Regions from separate parts of the Homo sapiens genome. Here region 2 is linked to region 1. Evidence: promoter capture Hi-C in 16 types of primary human blood cells and fetal thymus (Javierre and others, 2016). All regions are on one chromosome and are shown on one strand. Each heading gives the region's core, a stretch centred on a gene start or on the middle of the fragment in contact. The rest is flanking DNA. Distances are from core to core; before and after follow the strand shown. Region 1 holds the start of TMEM203 (transmembrane protein 203). Region 2 has its middle 14 kb from the start of FBXW5.

Region 1 (4,435 bases), core at 1,561-4,060:
TGTTTTTGAGACGGAGTCTCGCTCTGTCGCCCAGGCTGGAGTGCAGTGGCGCGATCTCGGCTCACTGCAAGTTCCGCCTCCCGGGTTCACGCCATTCTCCTGCCTCAGCCTCCCGAGTAGCTGGGACTACAGGTGCCCGCCACCACATCCGGCTAGTTTTTTGTATTTTTAGTAGAGACGAGGTTTCACACCGTGTTAGCCAGGATGGTCTCGATCTCCTGACCTCGTGATCTGCCTGCCTCGGCCTCCCAAAGTGCTAGGATTACAGGTGTGAGCCACAGTGCCCGGCTCTTTTTCTTTTTTTTTTTTTTTTTGACAGAGTCTAGCTCTGTCACCAGTCTGGAGTGCAGTGGCGCAATCTCAGCTCACTGCAACTTCCGACTCCCTGGTCTAAGTGATTCTCCTGCCTCAGCCTCCCGAGTAGCTGGGATTACAGGCACGCACCACTGCGCCGTGCCCAGCTAATTGTTGTAATTTTAGTAGAGACGGGTTTCACCATGTTGGCCAGGCTGGTCTCGAACTCCTGACCTCGTGATTCGCCCGCCTCGGCCTCCCAAAGTGCTGAGATTACAGGCGTGAGCCACCGCAGCCGGCCCGCACTCAAGACATTCTTAAAAGATGCTCTCCACTCACTCTCTCAGTTGCTGATCTCCTGTAATCTGGCTTCTCTCCCCATGAGCCACTGAAGCTGCTCTTCCTGGTATCACCAACAATCCCTTTGCCAAGAAATCCCATGGATCCCTCTCAGGCTTTATCTGATTTGACTTCTGTGCAGCTTTACATGCCAGAGCCCTTCCTGGAACACTCACTCCCCCAGTCCTCTCCTTGGGGTGCTGCACCCTCTCTTCTAGCTGCTTGGTCACTCTCCTGCCCTCCTGGGCTCTAACGTTCTGGGCAGCCTGTCCTGTGGGGAGAGAGGAGCTTCCTCTTCTCACACTTCTGTATTGTGGCTACCTCAACACCTATCTCCGCCCCAGGATCTTCCTTGGAGCGCTAGTCCTACTGCACTTCTCCACTTCAATGTCTCCAGGTTCCCTTCCTGCACAGCCCCCTACTCCCACCGTGTTCTCTGATTTCTGTGGATGGAACCACCATCCATCTTGGTTCCAGAGCCCACATCCCTGTCTCGATTCTGCTTGACCTATTGGGTCCGTTCCATGTCCCGGGGACTCTCTCTTCCTGACACCACTGCAATGTGTCCACTTCTATCTTCTGCCACCACTTCAGCTCAGATCGGTAGCATCTGCTGCCTGTCCTGTGCATCTCATGGCATTATTCCTGCTGTCCTGCAGACCAGTGCGGTTTTGCTAGCTTAGGAACATGACTGTGTCACCCCTACAGTTCCGACAACCCTTCATTTCAAGCCCATCTGCCTTGCTGTGGTTACTCAGGCTCTTTGGACTGGGCCTGGCTTCCTGCCTCTCTTCTCCTCCCCTCTTGCCCCAGTGTACTCCTCAGCTTGGCCACCCTGAGCTGCTTTCCACTTTTCACACAAACCAAATCATCTTTTTCCTCTGCGCTGACTGCTCCTTCTTCCTCGGTGCCTGACTAGCCCTCACGCATCCTTCCGTGACTCAGCTTACACTCTTTTCTTCCAGAAACCTCTGCCTGGGCCCCAAGGTTGGGTGAGATAAGGCTCGATGCCCCTTATCAGTGCTCCTGTGACATATGCTACTTTCCCCAGCAGCAGGTGTTTGCTGGCACTGTCATTGCCCGTTAGCTGCTTCTGCTACAGTGTGAACTCTGCCAGGATGGAAATATGGCTGCTGGGTTCACAGCTGGATCCCCAGCACCAGACTGTGCCAAGAATAGAATATGTGCTTAAAAGATGGTCAGAGAATTCAGCAACGTTCCCTGAGGGTCATACAGTCTAGAAATACACACAAGACCCAGACTAGATGCACATATAGATAGCCCTGGAAAAATAAGAAAGGTTAAAACGGATAATAAGGCTATTTGGTGGCTACGACGAGTTTATTAGAGAGGGCAACCGGAGCCCCCAGCCCCACTCACGGACGTTCTCTCAAATCCACCTCTGAAGGTGCATGAGATAAAGGAGAGCTATTTACTGCACCTAGACGCCAGGCAATGAAAACGGGGTGAGGGTCGAGGGCAGGGATCTGAGGAGCCACATCAGGCCAGCCTTACCTTCATGTTGTCAGGGGGGTCTCCTTGGCCTGTAGTTGCACAAACAAATATCACCAGGGGCTCGTTAATCAGATTCACCTCAACAAAAAGACACACACACGTAAGACCTCCGGCTGTAAGGACCGGGCGTCCTTCCCAAAACTTGACCCCCTTCTCCTTTACTCAGGCTGACAGGGCAGAGGGATTTATGTGAGCAGCCAGACCGTCTTCTCTTTCAGGTTCCAACCTCCTCCAGGTGCTAAACTGAACTCCCCTTCCCAAACCTCCTTCCCTAAATCCGCCATAAGGGAAAGACCCGCTCTCAGAGAAAATGCGACGCCTTTTGGGTCGATGACCCCGCGAGGCGGGCACGCCAGGCCTGCTCGTCCCCCACGCCGAGGCCCTAGCGAGCCCTCACCACCGGGTAGGAGTCCAGGGCCTGCACCCGGCAGCCAAGCCGCCGGCGCCGGGCCTCGCGACCCAGTCTCTCCGACACATCCTGAGCCGTGCCTGTCTGGCTGCCGAAGAGCACCAGAAGCTGCGGGCTCGGCATCGGGGTGCGCCCGGTGGTCTGGTCTGAGACTAAAAACTAGAAGGCAGTTCCCGCCGGCCGGGTTGCAGGGACCGCTCCGCCTTCCGCCTTCCGCCGTCGACCGGAAGTGACGCACTAGGGACGCGCCCTGTGGGGGCATGGCGTCCGATCGAGGCGGGCGTTCACGGGCGGCCAGGGTTGAGTCCCGGGTCGGGGCCGGGGGATTGCCGGCGCATCAGGGCCGAGGGCTGGGGCTGGCGGGGCCGCTCGCTGCCTCTCGCTCGCAGCAGCGGCGGCAGGCGCGGGCGAGGGCCACGGGGAGAGGAGACGCAGCCCCGCGGGTGGCACGCTCGGCCGGGCCCCGGCCCGCGCTCAACGGGCGCGATGCTCTTCTCGCTCCGGGAGCTGGTGCAGTGGCTAGGCTTCGCCACCTTCGAGATCTTCGTGCACCTGCTGGCCCTGTTGGTGTTCTCTGTGCTGCTGGCACTGCGTGTGGATGGCCTGGTCCCGGGCCTCTCCTGGTGGAACGTGTTCGTGCCTTTCTTCGCCGCTGACGGGCTCAGCACCTACTTCACCACCATCGTGTCCGTGCGCCTCTTCCAGGATGGAGAGAAGCGGCTGGCGGTGCTCCGCCTTTTCTGGGTACTTACGGTCCTGAGTCTCAAGTTCGTCTTCGAGATGCTGTTGTGCCAGAAGCTGGCGGAGCAGACTCGGGAGCTCTGGTTCGGCCTCATTACGTCCCCGCTCTTCATTCTCCTGCAGCTGCTCATGATCCGCGCCTGTCGGGTCAACTAGCCTCACCGAGGTGCCGGAGAGGGAGCGCTGGACAACTAGAATGTTGACCTCGAGCCGAGGCCCTACTTGCAGCGCACCGGAGGAGAGGCTCTCTAGTCTGAAGGCACCGCCGGCTTGCGCCGAGCTGAGTGCCGGGTTTCCCTATTCCAATCCTGTTTGAAATGGTTTCTTCAGCAGGGCTTAAAAGAGCAGCCTTCATCCTGAAAATGTATTTCCTTTTGTTTAATGCTTTGAGTAGATAATCCTGAATTGAGGTCATGAGGAGGCCCCCCAGGCCAGACAGTCCTGAACCCCTCTGACACTTGGAAACTGAATATAAGTAAAATGTCCAGGTGGACTCTGAGTATTTCCTGTGGATCCTGGGAAAGTACTGTTGCACAAAGGCTGCAAAGCTGGACTCAGGAATGTCCTCCAACCAGCAGCGCTGACCTAAGAGCTCCCTGTGCCGTCTATCCAGACCAGACTTCGGTAGATGCCTTTGTTAGATCTATCACATGTAAACGAGCTTGTATCTCCTTCCCTGTGCCACGAGAGAGATTGGCTTTTTATTCCAGTCTAGGCAGAGACAGAAGAATGTTGAATAAGAGCACGATTAGAGTCCTGTCTGGTTATCTGTTGCCCAAGAAAAGAACTCTGCTGTCCAGGCACTGCTTGGCTTACTATCCCAGCAAAGACTGCAGTTTTGTGGACTTTTGACCACCTTGGGCTGGCACTCTTAGCACACCTGAGACAGATTTAAGCCTCCCTAAGAGACTGAAGAGAGGAACAGGTGTCAGATACTCATAGGCACTGAGATCTACAAATGGGAAGCTTGTGAGTGGCCCATCTTTGTTGGCCTACGAACTTTGGTTTGATGCCAGTCAGGTGCCACATGAGAACCTTTGCTGAGATGCAAATAAAGTAAGAGAATGTTTTCCTGAAATGAATAGTGGTTGCCTGTAACCCTCAAGGGTTAAATAGGATGAATATTGAGATACTCTC
Region 2 (4,372 bases), core at 1,320-3,819, 280 kb after region 1:
TTTTTTTTTTGGAAGACAGTTTCCTTGTTGCCCAGGTTAGAGTGCAATGGCACGATCTCAGCTCACTGTCACCTCCGTCTCCCAGTTCAAGCAATTCTCCTGCCTCAGCCTCCCAAGTAGCTGGGATTACAGGAGTGCACCACCATGCCCAGCTAATTTTTGTTTTTAATAGAGATGGGTTTTCACCATGTTGGCCAAGCTGGTCTCAAACTCCTGACCTAAGGTGATCCGCCTGCCTCGGCCTCCCAAAGTGCTGGGATTATAGGCATGAGCCACCAAACCCAGCCATTGAAAAACATCTTGATAAAATGTCTAGTCATGATAAAAAAAAAAAAAAAAAACCCTAGAAGCAAACTAGAAGTAGAAGGGAACTTGCTCAACCTGATAAAACAGCATCACCAAAAATCCCCGTGGGTAACATGATACATAATTGTGAAAGCAAGAAAGCTTTCCCCAAGAGTGGGAATGAGGAAAGGCTATAGACTCTTACCATTACTATTCAACCTTATAAACGGGAAGTCAGCCAATGGAACAAGGCAAGCAAAAGAAATAAAAGGCATAGAGATTGAATAAAAAGAAATAAAACTGTCCTTATTAATGGATGACATATTGTTCACACATAAAATCCCCCCAAATCTATAAAAACAAACAAAATCCTAATCTCCTACAACCAGTAAGTGAATTCATCAAGGTTATGAGGTATAAGAACAACACATAAAAATCAGTTTTGTTTTTAAACACTGGAAATATACAGTCAGAAACCAAAATTCAAAAAACAACCTCTTACAACAGCTCAAGAAACAAAGTAAGCTGTGGGATAGGAAGCAATAAATAAGTAAAAGAAACACTGAAGCATAAACCTACTAAAACATGTACAAGATATGTATACTGGCTGGGTGTGGTGACTTTTATGCCCATAATCCCAGCACTTTGGAAGGCAGAGGTGGGTGAATCACTTGAGTCCAGGACACCAGCCCAGGCAACATGGCAAAACCCTATCTCTACAAAAAATACAAAAATTAGCCGGGCGTGGTGGCACACACTTGTAGTCCCAGCTACTTAGGAGGCTGAGGTGGGAAGATCCATTGAGCCCAGGAGGTCAAAGCCACAGTGAGCTGCGATCATGCCACTGCATTCCAGCCAGTTCAACATACATATGAAATACTACAAAACGCTGATAAAGAATAGAGATAGACTATGTTCATGGATTGTCTGACTCAACACAGATGTCAATTCTCCCCAAACTGATGTGTAGACTTAACGCAATTCCAATCAAAATCCCAGAATTTTTTTGTAGTTGACTGTGAAATATATATGTACTGTCAAACAAACAAAAATAGGGAAAACAATTCTGAAAAACAACAACTGGCTGGGCGTGGTGGCTAATGCCTGTAATCCCATCACTTTGGGAAGCTGAGGCAGGCGGATCACTTGAGCCCAGGAGTTTCAGGCCAGCCTGGACAACAGAGAGACCCTGTCTCCGGCTGGGTGCAGTGGCTCATGCCTGTAATCCCAGCACTCTGGGAGGTCGAGGTAGGCAGATCTGAGGTCAGAAGATCGAGACCATACTGGCCAACATGGTGAAACCCCGACTCTACTAAAAATACAAAAAAATTACCTGGGTGTGGTGGCATGCACCTGTAATCCCAAATACTTGGAAGGCTGGGGCAGGAGAATCGCTTGAACCAAGGAGTCAGAGGTTGCAGTGAGCCAAGATGGGTCACTGTACTCCAGTCTGGTGACAGAGCGAGAGTCTGTCTCAAAAAAAAAAAAAAAAAAAAAAAAAAAAAAAAAACTCTATCTCTACTAAAAATTTAAAAAATTAACCGAGTGTGGTGGTGTGCCTGTGGTCCCAGCTACTTGGGATGCTTGAGGTGGGAAGACCTGCTTGAGCCTGAGGTCTCGAGGGTGCAGTGAGGTAGGATTTGTACCACTGCACTCCAGCCTAGGCAACAGAACGAGACTGTGACTGTCTTTAAAAAAAAAAAAAAAAAAAAAAAAAAAAAAAGGGCAGGGCAGGGCAAACGAAAAAAAAGAGAAAAGAAAACGAAAAGAAAAAAGGAAGGAGGGAGGGAGGAAAAAGGAAAAAAAGAAAAAGAGAAACAAGAATAAAGTTTGGCCAGGTACAGTGACACATGCCTATAATCCCAGCACTTTGGGAGTCCAAGACAGGACAGTGTGAGACCAGGAGTCTGAGACCACCCTGGGCAACATAGTGATATTCTGTCTCTACAAAAATTAAAGAAAATAAGCTGAGCACGATGGTGTGAACCTGTAGTCGCAGCTACTTGGGAGGCCTAGGTGGGAGGATCACTGGAGCTCAGGGGTTTGAGGCTGCAGTGAGGTAGGACTGCGCCATTGCGCTCCAGCCTGGGTGACAGAGCAAGACCCTATATCTTAAAAAGAAATTAAAAAAGAATGCTGACAACACAAAGTGCCCACAAGGATGTGGAGCAGCGGGAACTGTGGCTCATGCTGGCATTCCACAACAGGCTACAGCTATTCTGGAAAGTGCTTGGCAGTTTCTTTTGAATTTAAAAATACACTTACTGTGTGATCCAGCAGCCCCACTGCTAACTACCTTAATGAAATAAAAACTTGCTCAACAACCTGTACACAAATGTTTATAGCAGCTCTATTCAGACCTGCAAAACATTAGAAACAACCCAAACACCCTTCAACAGGTGACGAGACAAACTGATCCATCCATAGAGCACTACTCCAAAAAAAACAAAAAAAAAAGAGAGAAAACAAATGCTGATGCACGCATCCTGATCAGTCTCAGCGGCGTTCTGCAGATCTCGCTGCTCCCAGCCACGCATTGTAGGACTCCATTATGGGACCTTCTTGGAAAGACATAACTACAGTGGTGGAGGACAGGTGTGTGGCTGCCACGGGTCGGGGTGGTGACTATGGGGAAAGTGGAACAGTCTTCTGAGATGGCAGGGCTCGCCTGTCTCCCAGGTATGGTGCTTACCCACATCTGCACAGGTGTGAACATCCATGGAATTGAATGTTCCATGAACAAAACAAAAGAACAAATCAATTTTACTACGTGAAATTTAAAAATGTTATTAGGGGCCAGGTGCAACACCTGCAATCCCAGCACTTTGGGAGGCTGAGGTGGGCAGATCACCTGAGGTCAGCAGTTCGAGACCAGCCTGGCCAACATGGTAAAGCCCTGTCTCTACTAAAAATACAAAAATTAGCCAGGCGTGGTGGCTCACAGCTGTAATCCCAGCTACTCAGGAAGCTGAGGCAGGAGAATTGCTTGAACCTGGGAGGCGGAGGCTGCAGTGAGCCGAGATTGTGCCATTGTATTCCAGCCAGGAAGACAGAACGAGATTCCGTCTCAAAAAAAAAAAAAAAAAAAAAAAACACTTCCTGAGGGAGATGTAAGGTGACACAAAAGTTCGGCAATTCCTCCAAGAGCTGAACAAGCGGCCCAGCAGCTCTACTCCTCGGTATAAATATTCAAGAGAAATGAAAACAAATACACGTCCCCATAAAAACTTGTTCACAAATGTTCACAGCAGCATTTTCAGAGTAGCCAAAAAGTAGAAACCACCCAAATGTCCAGCAACGGATGAATGGATAAATAAGGTGTGGTGCATCCATACAAGAGATTATTCAGCCATTAGAAGGAATGAAACTCCAATGCATGCTGCAACACACAGGAACCATGAAAATATCTTGCTGAGTAAAAGCAAAGGCCACATTCACATGAATGTCCTGAGTAGGCAAATCTATAGAGACAGAAGGTAGGTTTATGGCTGGCTGTCAGGGGCTGAGCGGGAGGGAACAGTGACTGCTAAGGGAAGGTTTCTCTGCAGGGTGATGAAATGTCCCAAAATTAGGTAGTGACGATGGTACCTCTGTGGGTTTGCACAGAGCCTGTCACTTCCCCAGAAGGCCATGAGGCGGCTGGGCCAGGCCTGCCCACGGGGCTGCTCCAGAGCATTTTGTCCCTCAAGGGCCTTGGTCTGCTTCGTGGGAGCCTCTTGGTGTGGCAGCCAGTGCCTAGGGAATTGTTCCGAGTGCAGACCTCTGCCCCTTCTGCAGCCTGGAGCCCGATGCTGCTCTCACTGCGTGGGGGGTGCGGTCCTCAGCTCTTCCCCAGGTTCTCCAGACCTCCATCTCCACTGCAGGGAGGTGAGGGCCAGGAGGACCATCCGGCTGCTCTGGCAAAGGACCTCCAAGGTAGCTGCTCTGCCCCGTCTTTCAGTTGATCCACTTTTAGACTCTGCTCCATGCCAGGGCCTCCCGGTGTGGCCAGCTTCCCCCTCAGCCCTCTTCTGCTCAGCAGCCACCCACCAACCCACTTCCCACCTTCCAAAATGGGTTCAAATCCTTTGTGGGATGTTGGCTTCTT

What was found. The method cuts DNA at HindIII sites, captures the fragments that hold promoters and counts their contacts. A CHiCAGO score of 5 or more calls a contact.
Region 2: a fragment that was not itself captured here is called in contact with the fragment with the promoter of TMEM203 in region 1 in 2 of 17 cell types (M2 macrophages and M1 macrophages); the score reaches 5.7 in M2 macrophages.

The regions. Positions count from the first base shown.
Region 1 is chr9:137,204,023-137,208,457 of GRCh38, reverse strand. It overlaps TMEM203 (transmembrane protein 203), which reads left to right and starts at 2,810. Exons shown (of 1, transcript NM_053045.2): 1 at 2,810-4,376. The coding sequence starts at 3,044. The coding sequence ends at 3,454. NDOR1 (NADPH dependent diflavin oxidoreductase 1) reads right to left here and starts at 2,758. Exons shown (of 14, transcript NM_014434.4): 1 at 2,546-2,758; 2 at 2,149-2,226. The coding sequence starts at 2,680. RefSeq lists a silencer at 2,795-3,054. The HindIII fragment of the contact is 6,239 bases long and covers 1-4,266 here.
Region 2 is chr9:136,928,346-136,932,717 of GRCh38, reverse strand. No RefSeq gene overlaps it. Among named protein-coding and RNA genes, the nearest start is that of FBXW5, 14 kb to the left of the region's middle. The HindIII fragment of the contact is 4,239 bases long and covers 450-4,372 here.